5 separate regions of the Homo sapiens genome follow, and regions 1, 2, 3 and 5 are each linked to region 4. The links are contacts of gene promoters, found by promoter capture Hi-C in blood cells and fetal thymus (Javierre and others, 2016). All regions are on one chromosome and are shown on one strand. The core of a region is centred on a gene start or on the middle of the fragment in contact, and the rest is flanking DNA. Distances in the headings are between cores, read along the strand shown.

The links. Contacts are between HindIII fragments. The CHiCAGO score rates a contact against its expected background, and 5 or more counts as called.
Region 1: a contact is called between the fragment with the promoter of DCUN1D3 here and a fragment that was not itself captured in region 4, in 2 of 17 cell types (naive B cells and M1 macrophages). The highest score is 6.7, in naive B cells.
Region 2: a contact is called between the fragment with the promoter of ANKS4B here and a fragment that was not itself captured in region 4, in 4 of 17 cell types (naive B cells, total CD4 T cells, fetal thymus and 1 more). The highest score is 9.7, in naive B cells.
Region 3: the fragment with the promoter of ACSM1 here is called in contact with a fragment that was not itself captured in region 4 in 2 of 17 cell types (fetal thymus and total B cells); the score reaches 9.3 in fetal thymus.
Region 5: a contact is called between the fragment with the promoter of ZP2 here and a fragment that was not itself captured in region 4, in 9 of 17 cell types (naive CD8 T cells, total CD4 T cells, fetal thymus and 6 more). The highest score is 12.1, in naive CD8 T cells.

The regions. Positions count from the first base shown.
Region 1 is chr16:20,898,910-20,901,609 of GRCh38, forward strand. DCUN1D3 (defective in cullin neddylation 1 domain containing 3) reads right to left here and starts at 1,449. Exons shown (of 3, transcript NM_173475.4): 1 at 1,295-1,449. It overlaps LYRM1 (LYR motif containing 1), which reads left to right and starts at 1,862. Exons shown (of 4, transcript NM_001128302.3): 1 at 1,862-1,980. RefSeq lists enhancers at 1,009-1,058, 1,268-2,053, 2,054-2,700. The HindIII fragment of the contact is 5,697 bases long and covers 538-2,700 here.
Region 2 is chr16:21,232,252-21,234,951 of GRCh38, forward strand. ANKS4B (ankyrin repeat and sterile alpha motif domain containing 4B) reads left to right here and starts at 1,448. Exons shown (of 2, transcript NM_145865.3): 1 at 1,448-1,650. The coding sequence starts at 1,487. It overlaps LOC105371123 (a long non-coding RNA gene), which reads right to left and starts at 1,351. Exons shown (of 2, transcript XR_001752344.2): 1 at 1,241-1,351. The HindIII fragment of the contact is 3,732 bases long and covers 156-2,700 here.
Region 3 is chr16:20,696,377-20,699,255 of GRCh38, forward strand. It overlaps ACSM1 (acyl-CoA synthetase medium chain family member 1), which reads right to left and starts at 1,304. Exons shown (of 14, transcript NM_001318890.3): 1 at 1,260-1,304. It also overlaps a transcript of ACSM3 not described here. The HindIII fragment of the contact is 2,330 bases long and covers 395-2,724 here.
Region 4 is chr16:22,663,522-22,666,221 of GRCh38, forward strand. No RefSeq gene overlaps it. Among named protein-coding and RNA genes, the nearest start is that of LINC02890, 51 kb to the left of the region's middle. RefSeq lists an enhancer at 1,157-1,316. The HindIII fragment of the contact is 386 bases long and covers 1,230-1,615 here.
Region 5 is chr16:21,210,189-21,212,888 of GRCh38, forward strand. ZP2 (zona pellucida glycoprotein 2) reads right to left here and starts at 1,386. Exons shown (of 19, transcript NM_001376232.1): 1 at 1,298-1,386; 2 at 1,119-1,207; 3 at 1-4. The coding sequence starts at 1,359. The HindIII fragment of the contact is 1,261 bases long and covers 891-2,151 here.

The sequences.
Region 1 (2,700 bases), core at 199-2,698, 1.8 Mb before region 4:
AGCATATCAACAAAGAGGCCTTCTTTCCATTCTTTGCTTCAAATAATTTTTTCACATCCGTTATTGGTTTGTATTCGCCCTTAAACCAAAACTAAACAGATCACACTGTCTCATTTAGGACCCCCATACACAAAGAATCAGCTACGTAAAGATGAAAATCAGCACAAGCTGAACGTGTCACTGATGATTTGTGTGTCACACATAAATGGAGAAAAACATAAAAGAGCTATTGTCCAATTGTAGAAACAAAAAAGTAATATGGGGTTTTCTGTTCTCTGAAGTGCATCATGAAAAGTGGGTGGAGAGAAACACAGAAATCCAGAATTAGCCTAGCAAATCATTTTGGGAAGAGCTGACAACATGTAAATTCCTCACACATAAAGTATTTCGAGCAAGAGACCTTGATTCCTGGGCTATGATGCCATTCAGGATTCCTTGCAAAGGCTCTGGAATTCCAGTATTCATAAAAGAAAATGCTCATTATAATCGGAGCGTAAGAGGTACTCCCAACGTGACAGCCTGTATGAAGTATTACAAAGCTTACAGTTAAGATCTGGGATAGAGGCTGAACACCAAATTCAAAAGAGGTAACCAAGGCACTAAGTGCCATAAAGGAGGAAAGGGGAAGAAAAAAAAATCCACTATTGCCACTCAGCCACAGAGAATTAAAGTGGAAACCAGGGGTGTGCATGGGGGAGGATGAGGGGTGAGAAGTGCGGGGGGTGTGGTGGAGGAACAAACAATACATTTGTCACCCCGTCCCACTTCCTATAGAGGATACAGGCAAAGCCTCCAGCCTCATTACCTCGGACACAGATGGTTATCGTTTATAGCAAAGGTGCACAAAAAGGCCTTCAGGTCTGAGCCCCTTAATTCCAGGGCTGTTAATGATTAAAGAGAACGATGGGGGTGGGGAGGGAAATGAGGGCGGAGGGAGCTGGGAGATTCACCCACCACCTCCCCCTAGGGCTCCTACCTCACAGCGCTCACCCAGGACAGAGGACCAGAGTCTGCACCCCCTCCAGGGCAGCTCCAACCCCATATCCCCAGGCCCTGGGTTGAGGGGTGCTGGCGGTGGGGAGGCAGGGACAGTAGGTAAGTTTTCTGAGCCCTGCGGCTGACACGCCACAGGCTCCCCTCACAGCCTCTTCTTTCAGAGGTACCACTCCAGACAACGCGCTGACTTCCACTCCTCCCTTTCCACCCCCCTTTCTCGAAGGTACCCAACCCCCGCCCCTTCATCTCTCAATGCCCCCCCGCCTTTTCCTCAACTCCCCCCCTCCCCAAAACTCACAGCTGCTCCAGAGGTTCCTCCAGTCAAACCCTTTCTGGAAACGACGGCGGCCCGGCGGGTCCAAACCACCTACCATCCCCGCTCGCGTTTCCAGGCTCCCTACCCCCGCCGCCGCCGCCTCTTCTTCCACCACTGCCACCGCCTCCTCTTCATCTGCGGCCCACCGGCGGCGGCCGCCCCGAAGCCCCGCCCCCTCCATCGCCTCCTGCATCATCACTTCCGGTAACCCCGCCGGCCGCCAGCTCCAGGAGGGAGAATGGGAGAGGGGCAAGGAGGGAACGAGTGGAAGATTGCGTCACGACGCACATAAAGACGTACGAAGCCGTCGCCAAGTAAGGGCAAAGACCTAGCAACCCGGAGGGAGCTGGGCTGGACCATTTTTTTTTCTTGTTTTACGGGAATGGAGCGGGGAGGATAATGAAAGCGTAAAGGAAAAATAGGGGGAGGAGGAGCTCAGCTTATTGTTGGATGCGGCGGGAGATGGGTAGAGTCAGTCAGTCGAGACTCCCCCAGACCTGGAACTGGTGCTCCCACAGAGGTGGGCCCGGTGGTTTGGTCCGGCCTGGCCTACTGGACCAGCCTGTGCTCGGTCGGCCACGGCTCTGCTGGGCTCCTGGCGCCGCCTCCTCCCAGCCCGCCGCGGGCTGCGCGCTTCTGTGGGTGGGGGAAGGCAGGACTGACGCAGAGTGAGTGTAGGGGATGGAGGCGCCGACTCCAGGCGCGGGAGACTGGCGGGGAAGGGGTTGGCTCCCCACGGGCAGGGATGGTTTGGAGGTTGGGCTGCGGCGTTGCCGGGAGACGGGCCTGTGTGACCCCAGCTTCGCGGGGGCGGCTCGGTGTCATCGCCACCGGCCTCGGGGACCTGCCTCACGGAAGTGGCTCGCGCGTCCAAGAGGGGAGGCCTGGTGTGGGGACGCTCAGGTGCCGGCGTGGGGCCCCCTCGGAGGCTGTGAATCTTTTGGACCCCCGAATGTAAATGGGAGATGGTAGGGGCCGGTCCGGGGGCGAGAGGTGTCTGGCTGGGGAACGTTGACCCACACCAGGTCCCGTACAGGAACGGAGACTCCCTAGGACCGTGAGAGCCAGCTTCGTAATTCTCTTGCTCTTCAAACCTGAGAGTAGGGTGTTGCTCCGTTACCTTCCATTCGTGTGCAGGAGAGAGTTAAGTAAATCAATAAAGAAGGTATCAGCAAGTGAGAAATGCCCCCCAAAGACCGGATGAGGTGACAGAAGATGGGGGGAGGGCCCCTCGAAATCGGGTAAGGTCGTTCAAAGGAGGCCACGGTTTTGCGGGGATCCGAGACAATGGGTTTTCTGGGTGGAGAGAAGAGCCAATGAGAAGGACTTTTAGGTTGGAAACAGCCAGAAGGCCATGTGGCTGAAGCAAACAGAGCCAGGGCCGGAGT
Region 2 (2,700 bases), core at 198-2,697, 1.4 Mb before region 4:
GATCTGGAAATTTTTTGGTCTTATATTGTACTCCTTATAGTCATTTTTCTATACTTTTTCTCCTTCCCTTGAGTTATTGATAATATGTTTAAGTTATTGATTTGAGATCTTTTTTCTTTCTCATATATGCATAAAAAACTACAAATTTTGCCCTAAGCTTTTCTTTAACTGCATCCTATAAATCTTGATATGTGGTATTTTCATTTTCATTCTGTTCCAAATATGTCTGATATAGGACTTGTATCCAGAGTATATAAATAATTCTTATAATTTATTAATAAGACAACCACTTAAAAATTGGGCAAAAAGATTTGAATAGAAGATGTAAGAATGGCTAATGGGCACATGAAAAGATGCTCAATATCTTAGTCATTAGGAAATTGAAAATTAAAGCCATAATAAGACCACTTCATATCCACTAGGATGACCATAAACAAAAAGATAGGCAATAATAAGGCTGGCAAGGTTGTGGAGAAATTGAAACCCTCATACGTTATTGGTGGAAATGTGAAGTAGTACAGCCACTTTGGAAAACAGTCTGGCAACTTCTGAAATTTAAATGTAAATTGCCATGCAACCCAGCAGTTTCACTCCTTGATATATACGCAAGACACATGAAAATATGTGTCCACACAGAGACTTGTACATCAGTGCTCATAGCAGCATTATTCATCATTACTGAAAAATGGAAACAACCCAAATATTCATCATATTCATGAAACATTGAATGGATGAAGAACATGTGGTATGTTAGCACAGTGGAATATTATTCAGCAGTGAAAAGAAAGAAACCATTACATGCTACACATGACAAACCTCAAAAAAGTATGTGAATTGAAACAAGCTATACACTAAAGACTATATATTGTAGGATTCCATTTGTCTGAAATGCCCGTAAAAAACAAATCTATAGAGACAGAAAGCAGACTGTGGTTTCCTGAGGTTGGGAGTGGAAATGGGATTGACAGCAAATGGCATGAGGGATCTTTAAGGGCTGATGGAAACTGGATTATGATAATGGGCATGCAACTCTATAAATGTCCTAAAAATCATTGAATTGTATGCATGAAATGGGTAAATTTAATGATGTTATACCTCAATAAAGCTGTTCTTTTTGGAAAAAACAGCTAGTGAACTAGAGTAGCTCTGCATTTTATTAAGAAATTATTTCTTACATCCTGTGCCTAGATGGCCAATATTACACTCAAGAAACTAATGGACATAGAAAAATTGAATGTACCTCCAAACACTCAAGATGAATACAGCAGTCTTCAATAGTCAACGTCATGGCCATTCCAGAGAGAAAAGGTCCAAGTTCAGTGCCTCGAACCTTGTTGCCTTCCGTGAAAGGAAGCAGTTGAAATGAGCTTTGCCCCTGGTGACACTCTTCCTTGTCACTAATTAACCAGCTCTATAGGAAGGTTGCTCCGCCAACACCTTGCTCTGCCTGGAGAGACATCTGGCCAAGTTCTGGTGAGCAGGAAAAATGTCTACTCGTTACCACCAAGCTGCTAGTGATAGTTACCTGGAACTTCTAAAAGAGGCTACCAAGCGAGATCTAAATCTTTCGGATGAAGACGGCATGACTCCTACTCTCTTGGCAGCCTACCATGGGAACTTGGAAGCCCTAGAGATAATCTGCAGTAGAGGGTAAGTTCAACCCGATGGTTTCTGTTGGAAACAGTGTTCATGGTAGGTTTTTGCAGACAGCAGCAAGAGGCAGGGACGTCAATACAAATACTTTATCCTCTTTCTAGATTGTCTAAATGATTGGATTTTTAGAGAAAGAGAGAAAACTATGCCTAGAGATGCTCTCTTTTCTCACTGAGGACTGGCACTATAGGAGTGGCTCATCCCTTAGCCACAATCAGAGGAGAGACCCTGAACTACGGCATTATCTGCATGGGGAAGAGGGAAGATATTTTAATTCTATGCCTTTAAAAATGCTTTTCATGAAATTTAAATAGTTTTCTCTTTTCAAAGAGGCCATTGTTTTACTTGGTTTTAAGTTGCCAACCTTGGTTGGAACAAATGACATGGTTTTAGTTTTTTTTTTATCTATGCCATCAAAATCTCACAGTCTTTTATTAACTTTCAATCCCAGTGCAAGCTCATGATTTTTTTATTTTTTATTTTTGACACAGGGTCTTGCTCTTTTGAATGGAGTTGCTGGCTCTACAAGGACTCTTTAGCCTATCTTAACTCTATCACTTCTTTGGCTAGTGGATAGATACACACACACACACACACACACACACACACACACACACCCCATCTCTTTGCCCAGATTTTAATGGAGGAGTAAGCTAGTTCCTCTGCTTGTTCTGCCTGTTATCAGAGGGCTAGGTTGTGTTGGCAACCGTAACCCAAGAGGGGTAAAGAAAGAGAAAAGGACAAGGTAAATAAAGGAGCCAAGTGAATCCAATTGAATACCCATTTATTCAGTATTTGTTATGTGCCAGCCACTTATCTCTTAAGATAAGAGATATTTTGCTAGCCACTGGGCACACTGTGATCAACAAGACAGCCACAGTCCCTGTCATAGTGAGCAGATTTGAGAGGGGAAGACAAGACATCTATGATATTTGTGTGTGTGTGTGTGTGCATGTTTGCTCTGAGACAGGGTCTCACTCTGTCACTCAGGCTGGAGTGCAGTGTCAAGATCATAGCTGACTGCAGCCTTGAGCCCCAGGCTCAAGT
Region 3 (2,879 bases), core at 54-2,553, 2.0 Mb before region 4:
CCGTGCTGGACATAGTAAGTGCTCAACAAAAAGTTAGATTCTTCCCTTCTTTGTCATAATTCAGAAAACTGAGTGATGAAAGTCAGAAAGAGAAAAGCCAGTGTGCCCACAAATTATCTGAGTTATAGAAAAATGTATTTTTTCTTTCTCAAGTATTTACTATAGATGTACCATGTACAGTTTTAGATACTATTGGAGATTAATTAAACTGAAAGAGTTCCTACCCTGTTAGAGCATATCATTAAAGCACATCCTATGAAATCATTTTAAAGAACAATTTTCTGAACTGCTTAAAGTGCATTCTGAAAGCAATTTGACATGGTAGCTTTGAGAGGCAGCTGGGCTCCCCACTGTATTCCCAGATACATAGTGCCTTGAACAGCTCCTGCAACTAAGCTTTGACTTCACAGGACTTGGGACTGATAAAGCTATTTAATGAAGCAACATACTTACTGTGTTATAGGGTATCCCAGAGTTACAGAGCCAGGGCTAGATGTTTGTCTCTGTTGTCTAGCAGCTGGGTCTTTGGTGCTGTTCATGTCTCTGAACTTAAGCGCACAGTAGTAATACCTTCTTCCCAGCTCCCCATAAGGATTAGTGTGATAATTTACTTGCTGGCACTGAATGAAGTGCACGGTAAGGACTCAATAAATGTTGAGGTACCTTTTAACTCCCAGCAAATTCTGAAGCCAACCCCCTCCCCATTAGATGTTAACCATTTTTTTTGAAACTGTCACCTGGACTGGAGTGCAGTGGTGTGATCATAGCTCACTGCAGCCTCAATCTCCTGGGCTACAGTCATCCTCCTGCCTCAGCCTTTCAAGTACCTGGGACCACAGGCATGTATTACTATGCTTGGATAATTTTTTTTAGAAGGCATTCACTTTATAGAAAGTGAGCCAACTTCTGCATAGATAGAAAAGATTTCCTTCAAACATTCATCTCTGACTTTGTGCCTGTCTCCCACGGCTCACCACATTCAGAGCTGCCTGACACTAAACCAGTCCCCATTTACATGCCAGCCACTGTGCTAAACATATTACATGTACGTTCCTATTTATTCCTCTCACCCAATATCACCATTGTCATTTTGCCTCTAAAATGAAGTGCCAAGAAGTTAAGTGACTTGCCCAAGGTCACTCAACTTAAAAGTAGCATTGCCAGAACTTAAAATTGGATTACACACACACACACACACACACACACACACACACACACACACACACACAGATAGAAGCTGACCTTCACCTCTGTCTTACCTGGTACTGTTTAGGACGTAGCTGAACTAGGTCCCTGGTAGGTATGGAAAAGGAGGTTGAGCTCTCTTTTGTAGGTTCAGTTCTCTCTGATCAGGTGATCCGCAGGATTGTGCACCCAGCAGAACTTGGCTTCTGGCCACAGCGAAGGGGGACCTTGAACAGAGAACTTGTTAGGAATTGGGTAATTCAGTAGGGGGAGGAGATGCTCAGGTAAAATAGGACAGAAACAATTACAGGCCTCCACGGAGAGATAATCACTTAGAAAACAAACCATGTGGGCCGGGCGCAGTGGCTCGCGCCTGTAATCCCAGCACATTGGGAGGCCGAGGCGGGCGGATCACGAGGTCAGGAGATGGAGACCATCCTGGCTAACACGGTGAAACCCCGTCTCTACTAAAAATACAAAAAATTAGCCGGGTGTGGTGGTGGGCGCCTGTAGTCCCAGCTACTCGGGAGGCTGAGGCAGGAGAATGGCGTGAACACGGGAGGCGGAGCTTGCAGTGAGCCGAGATCATGCCACTGCACTCCAGCCTGGGAGACAGAGACTCTGTCTCAAAAAAAAAAAAAAAAAGAAAAACAAACCACGTATACGAAGTCACCTCCAATTCCGGTGGCATGGCTAGGGGTGTGAATGAACTAGATCCAATGGTGCATTTTCACTAGTTCTCTGTGGCTAACCTGCTCCCCCTTCCCAGCCCTACATCACCATAGTCTCCCTTAAATGACAGCTGAGAGTCAGTGTAGCCTAATGGATAAGAGCCTGGGCTCTGGAGGTCTGGAGGCAGAAAGGTCTGAGTTTGAGCCTTAGGTCTGCCACTTAACCTCCATGTCATCTTTGTGGACCTTCTTGCTCTGGGCCTCACCTCCCTTAATTGGTTTTCGGTTGCTTTTGAGACAGAATCTCATGCTGTCACCCAGGCTGGAATGCAATGGCATGGTCTTGGCTCACTGCAACCTCCGCCTCCCAGGTTTAATTGAGTCTCTTGCCTCAGCCTCCCAAGTAGCTGGGATTATAGGTGCCCGCCACCACACCCAGTTAATTTTTGTATTTTTAATAGAGACAGGGTTTCATCATGTTGGCCAGGGTGGTCTTGAGCTCTTGACCTCAGGTGATCTGCCCGCCTCAGCCTCCTAAAGTGCTGGGATTACAGGCATGAGCCACAGCACCCAACACCTACCTTATTTGTAAAATAGGAATGATAACAACAATACCTACCTCCCAGGGTGTTTTCTTTGCTTCTTCATTTGTTTGTTAGAACTAGATGAAATAATTTATAAAAAGCATGTAGCACACGGTGCTGGGCATAGTCGATGTTGGCTCTTTTTATTCACTTGGGATTCTCAGAGGAACAATTTGGTATCCTGGTAAAATGCAGGGTCTTTGGAATCCCAAAGTCTTGAGCTTAATTAAGTCCAACCTCAGGCACTCACAAGAAAGCTCTTGGGTGAACCATTTTCCTTTCAAAGCTTGGTCTTGACATTTGTAAAATGAAGCAGGATTTGTTAATAAGATTTGTTGCATGGGATCATTGAAAGGATTATGTGACACCAAGCCTGTAAAGCACCTGGACCAGGCATTTAGATGGAGGGTTGATAGTGATATTGCATTGGATAAACCAA
Region 4 (2,700 bases), core at 173-2,672:
CAGTGGGGCACTGGGCTAGTCGGGGAGAAGGTTCAAGACTAGAGGGGCTTAGCTTGTTGACATGAATATGCCCTGCCAGTTACAGTGTTACTAGCAGGACTTTATCCTTGTCTGAATCAGCAAATGGCCTGTCTGGTTAGAGTGCTTGCATGCTCTAAAATGTATGATCTTAATCACAGCTCAGTGAGAATATTTGCAGGCAGAAGACTCTCTGTTTTAGGTTGGGCTCCCTGGAAGCAGACGCTGAGACGAGGATTTGTGTAAAAGTGATTTATTATGAGGGGTTCTCAGAAACACTAGTAGGGGAGTGGGAAAATAGAATGGAGAAGAGAAGAAGCCAAGAAGGGTGTTGGATCAAGCAAGGTCCTACAGGAGGACTGCTGTGGCTCAGTCCCCAGGACAGCTCCAGGGAGAGTTCAGGCTGCTCCTTGCAGTTTTCCGATCAAGACAAGAGAGCTGGCGTGATGTTTCAGAGACAGGGGCTTGCTCTGTCACCAAGGTTGGACTGCAATGGTGCGATCATAGGTCACTGCAGCCTCAAACTCCTGAGCTCAAGCAATTCTCTTGCCTCAGCCTCCCAAATAGCTGGGACTATAGGCACTCACCACCATGTCCGGCTATTTTTAATTTTTTTTTTTTGTAGAGATAGGGTCTTGCTGTGTTGCCCAGGCTGGATTTGAACTCCTGGCCTCAAGTGATCCTCCTGCCTTGGCCTCCCAAAGTGTTGAGATTACAGGCATGAGCCATTCCACCCGGCCAGCTGGCATGCTTCTAAGCCTGCCTTCACCACTAATTGGTTAAGGGCTGGCCTCCAAGGGGAGTGCAAATTCCCAGGCACTCCAGTCTCAGCACACACAGGCAAAGTGAGAGCAGCCCTCTGCCAACATGCAGGTGCTGGCTAAGAGAAAGCACACAAGGAGCTGTGTGCAGAGCGTGGTCTGAGTGCGTGTGGGCAGAGGCCCCAAGAGCCCTGCTATGTGCTCTTATTCCAAGTGGATCCATTAGTTTGTTCTGCACACATTCATCCATCTTCAACTCTGTGCCAGGCTCTGGGCATGCAGGCGACAAAGACACAGCCCTAACCCTCATGAAATTTTTACAGCCAAGTAGGGGAGACAGACATTAAGTTTTAAAAATCCTCCCAAAATGAGGAACTGTGATTGTGAGTAGCGCTGTGGATGAGAAGAACACCTGGGAGGAGACCTCGTCTAGCAGGTGGGCGGGGATGAAGCTTCTCCAAACAAGTGACGCTGAGCCAAGAGCTGAAGGATGAGTAAGAGTGAACCAGGCATAAAAGGGAAGAAGGAGCATTACAAGCCTGGGGTGCATGTGCAAGGGTCCTGGGGCAGGAATCCACAGGAGCAAGTGAAAGGCTGGTGTGACTGGGGTCCGAAGACCCAGGGGAGAGCAGTAAGTGATGAGCCTGTGGGTTGCTGAGGAGTGATTATTCCCCACTTACCACCTGGTTCCTTTTCGAGCCTGTTCAATGTCGTTCAGACCCAGATGTGTGAGCCATTCTCTGGTACGTTCCCTGGAAGCAGAGGGGAAATGGGGACATAGCGAGGATGTTAGGGTGGAAGAGACTATTTTCAATGGTTCATCTTTTCCCCACTGAAGCTTATAGCTGAAATTAATACATAAATTTACAGCCACAAGTCAGTTGTGATAAATAATCCCAGAAGTGTTCCGATTATTTACATTTTTATGGAATCTTGCCTGAGCAAACCCAGAGAGCACACCAGGCACTTGAAGAATTATGTCTTGTTCAAAACCAATTTAATAGCAATGGAAAATAAAGCCATCTGTGGGAACTTGTAGAGCAGAGTAGTAATTCTCTGCCAGATGAGCAATATACAAAAAGCACCAAATCAACCCGAGCACACCAAGCGTTTGCACAGTTCAAGGGAAAGTAACAACTGCAACTTCAATGAACCGTCGGAAGACATCAGGCCTCAGAGTGTCTTTTGCTTGTGTTTTCAGCAGATGTCAGACAGATGAGGATTCTGCTCACGTAGCAATGTGAGAAGAGTCCCTCATGGTCTCCCTACATACAGTGGGGCTGACTGGTGAGAGGCTGTGCAAAAGGGAAGAAAGATCACATGGCGGAGGGGTTAAGAGCATGCGTTTGGGGCCAAAGAGTTGGGAGTTTGCATCTGGGCTCCCCCACTTACTAGCTGGGTGACATAGGGCAAGTCATTGTTTCTTATTTTCCTAATGTGTAAAAATGGGTAATATATGTGAGTGTTTTTCTCTCCCAGTCCAGCATCCTTTCCCCCTGTGTTAGTCTGCTTTGCATTGCTGTAAAGAAATGCCTAAGTCTGGGGTCTGGGTAATTTATAAGGAAAAGGGGTTTATTTTGGCTCACAGTTTTGCAGGCTGTACAGGAAGCATGGTGCTGTCTTGGAGCTCAGGAAGCTTCCAATCATGGCGAAAGGCGAAGGGGGAGCCCATGTGTCACATGGCAAGAGAGGGAGCAAGAGAGAGAGGGGGAGGTGCCAGACTCTTTTAAACAACCAGATCTCATGTGAACTAAGAGCAAGAACTCACTTATTACTGCAAGGCGGGCACCAAGCCATTCATCAGGGATCCACCCCCATGACCCAAACACATCGCACCAGGTCCCACTCCAACACTGGGGATCACATTTCAACATGAGACTTGGAGGGGACAAATATCCAAACCATATAATCCCCAATCTAA
Region 5 (2,700 bases), core at 136-2,635, 1.5 Mb before region 4:
GTGCCTAAGGAGCAAAGGAAGCATTTGGGGGCTTTGAGTCATGAGTGATGCAACTCCTACAAAAGTGTATAGACTCCTCTCAGATGGGAGGGATTCCAGATGAGGGAGGCAAGAATCGTCCCCTACCCTGGGAGAGCTCACAAACAAGTGACCAAGACAACAATACAATATGCCAAGAACTGTAAGGAAAATATCAGGTACCCAGGGCTTTTGAAGTGTTCCAGTAAGAAGCCCAGGTTAGGGTTGACAAGCAGGTCTGTAGGAGCCAGGTCAACACCTTGACAGTGGAGCAGATGGAGGCAGGCCCGAAAAACTGACAAAAGCTTTGTCAACAGGTTTTGCAAATTGATGTTAAACAAAGTCCTGGGTAAGTCCCAGGACTTTTATTTATTTATTTATTTATTTTGAGACGGAGTCTCTCTGTCACCCAGGCTGGAGTGCAGTGGCACGATCTCAACCCACCTCAACCTCCGCCTCCCAGGTTCAAGCGATTCTCCTGCCTCAGCCTCCCAAGTAGCTGGGATTACATGTGCCCACCACCACACCCAGCTAGTTTTTGTATTTTTGGTAGAGATGGGGTTTCACCACATTGGCCAGGCTGGTCTCAAACTCCTGAGCTCAGGTGATCTGCCCGCCTTGGCTTCCCAAAGTTCTGGGATTACAGGCGTGAGCCCCGGCGCCTGGCTGCATTTTTTTTTTTTTTTTTAAAGATCAAGTTTTGCCCATCATCTGCTACTCTGCAGCCTCTGGCTCAGGTGAACGTCAAGTGAGCAGCTCCAGTTTTGCTTGTTATGTCGATGTTTTCCTTAAGCATGAGTTTGTGTTTGAAGATTGCTGCTCCTAAAGATGAGGGCTTAGTGTGGTGGTTTGCTGTTCTGTGGATACCATAAAGCTTGAGGCAGTGAGGGATTGGAAGGCAGTGCAAGTGTTTGAGTTTTCATTTAGCAGGTATAGTGAGTCTACAGGTTAGCAGAAGAAAGATCCAGTAACCTGACCAAGGTAATAAAGGGGGTGAATGGAGGTTGTCTGAGCCAGGCCTGTGTTTCTTGGCCAGCTAGGCCTTCCAGCTGCAACCTGTTTTCTCTGCTAAGAAGACTTCTGTCACCCAAGAGACATACCTGGAAAGGCAGGATTTACCAACTGAGAAACATCTATGGAGTTCCCTGAAGTCACAAGGGCGAAGAAGAGAGAAATCGACCTGTAGGTGCTGGAAAGAGACAGGGAGATAGTCAAGGAAGAATGGACTTTAACAAACAAAGCTACCATACCCCCTCCCTCCACTTCCAGAATTACTCACCTCCAGCCTGCATTGAACCAGCCTGAGGGACTCCAAGAGCCTCCTCTCTGCCTGCACGCCATAGCAGAAGACACTACCAGATCAACCAGGTAGAGGGTAGGCTGCTCTGTGTTTTTATAGCAGGAAGCCAGCCGCATCCACACCCTCTCCCCATTGGGGGCACCTGAATCTTGTCCCATTCTCCCAGCTGAAACGGAAGGATTGGGGAAGGAAGTGGCCTCTGATTCCTGACAGCTTGCGCCGGGTATTCTGCCAGCTGCCCTGTGGGCCAGGCATGAAATCAGAGTTTGCTGAAATCAGCTCCAGGTGAGTGAATTGGTGTTTTCCCTATAACTATGGGGGAAATTAGGATCTTTTGGGCAAATTATTTACAACTGCAATGTAGAGCCAAAGAGAATCATGGGCTTTATTGAGAAAAAAACAAGTCTTGTTCACACCACTACATTTTTTTTTTTTTTTTGAGATTCAGTTTCACTCTGTCACCCAGGCTGGAGTGCACTGGTGCAATCTCGGCTCACTGCAACCTCTGCCTCCTGGGTTCAAGCAATTCTCCTGCCTCAGCCTCCTGAGTAGCTGGGATTACAGGTGCACGCCACCACACCTGGCTAATTTTTGTATTTTGAGTAAAGATTGGGTTTCACCGTGTTGGTCAGGGTGGTCTCGAACTCCTGACCTAGGTGATCCACGTGCCTCGGCCTCCCAAAGTGCTGGGATTACAGGCGTGAGCCATTGCACCTACCCTAAAACCTTTTAAGTAACATCTAGTCTTCTGGCTACTGCAGAAGTTACCCTGATAATGCACAGGAAGTGTCTTTAAAAAAATGAATGAAGCCTTGTTGACCCCCAAGTGTAAAAGCTTAAGCTTACCGCAAAGATACAATTTCAGAAGGATACAGAGAAAAGGCAAAAGTCACTCATAATAGTGCCACTGCTAATATTTAGGTGAGTAACTTTAGACATGTTTCTACAAACACCACACACAATTTTTTTAAAACACTGGGAGGAAAGTTTAAATACTGTTTTGTAATCTGCTACTGTCACTTTATAACTATTAAACATAAAGCTCTCTGTTACCATTTTAGGGTGGCATAATATTCAATTTGAGATAAATCTGTGTTTATATAATTTCCTTAATTATGAGCATAAGGTGGCTTGTAATTTTTCATCATTATAAGCAGTAACATGATGAGCATTCTGATACATATCCTTGGGTAACCCTCAAGATAAATTCCTCAAAGTAAAACTTCTGGGTAAAAGGGAGTAGTGATCTAATAAGAATGTTATATTGTTGTAAAGCACTTGGAAGTTTCCCAGTGGGGAAACTGAGGCAAGGCAACTTGCCCCAACAATGTCAGGGACCAGGTGGAGAACTCAGATTTCCTGAGGCCTGATGGTTGTGTTTT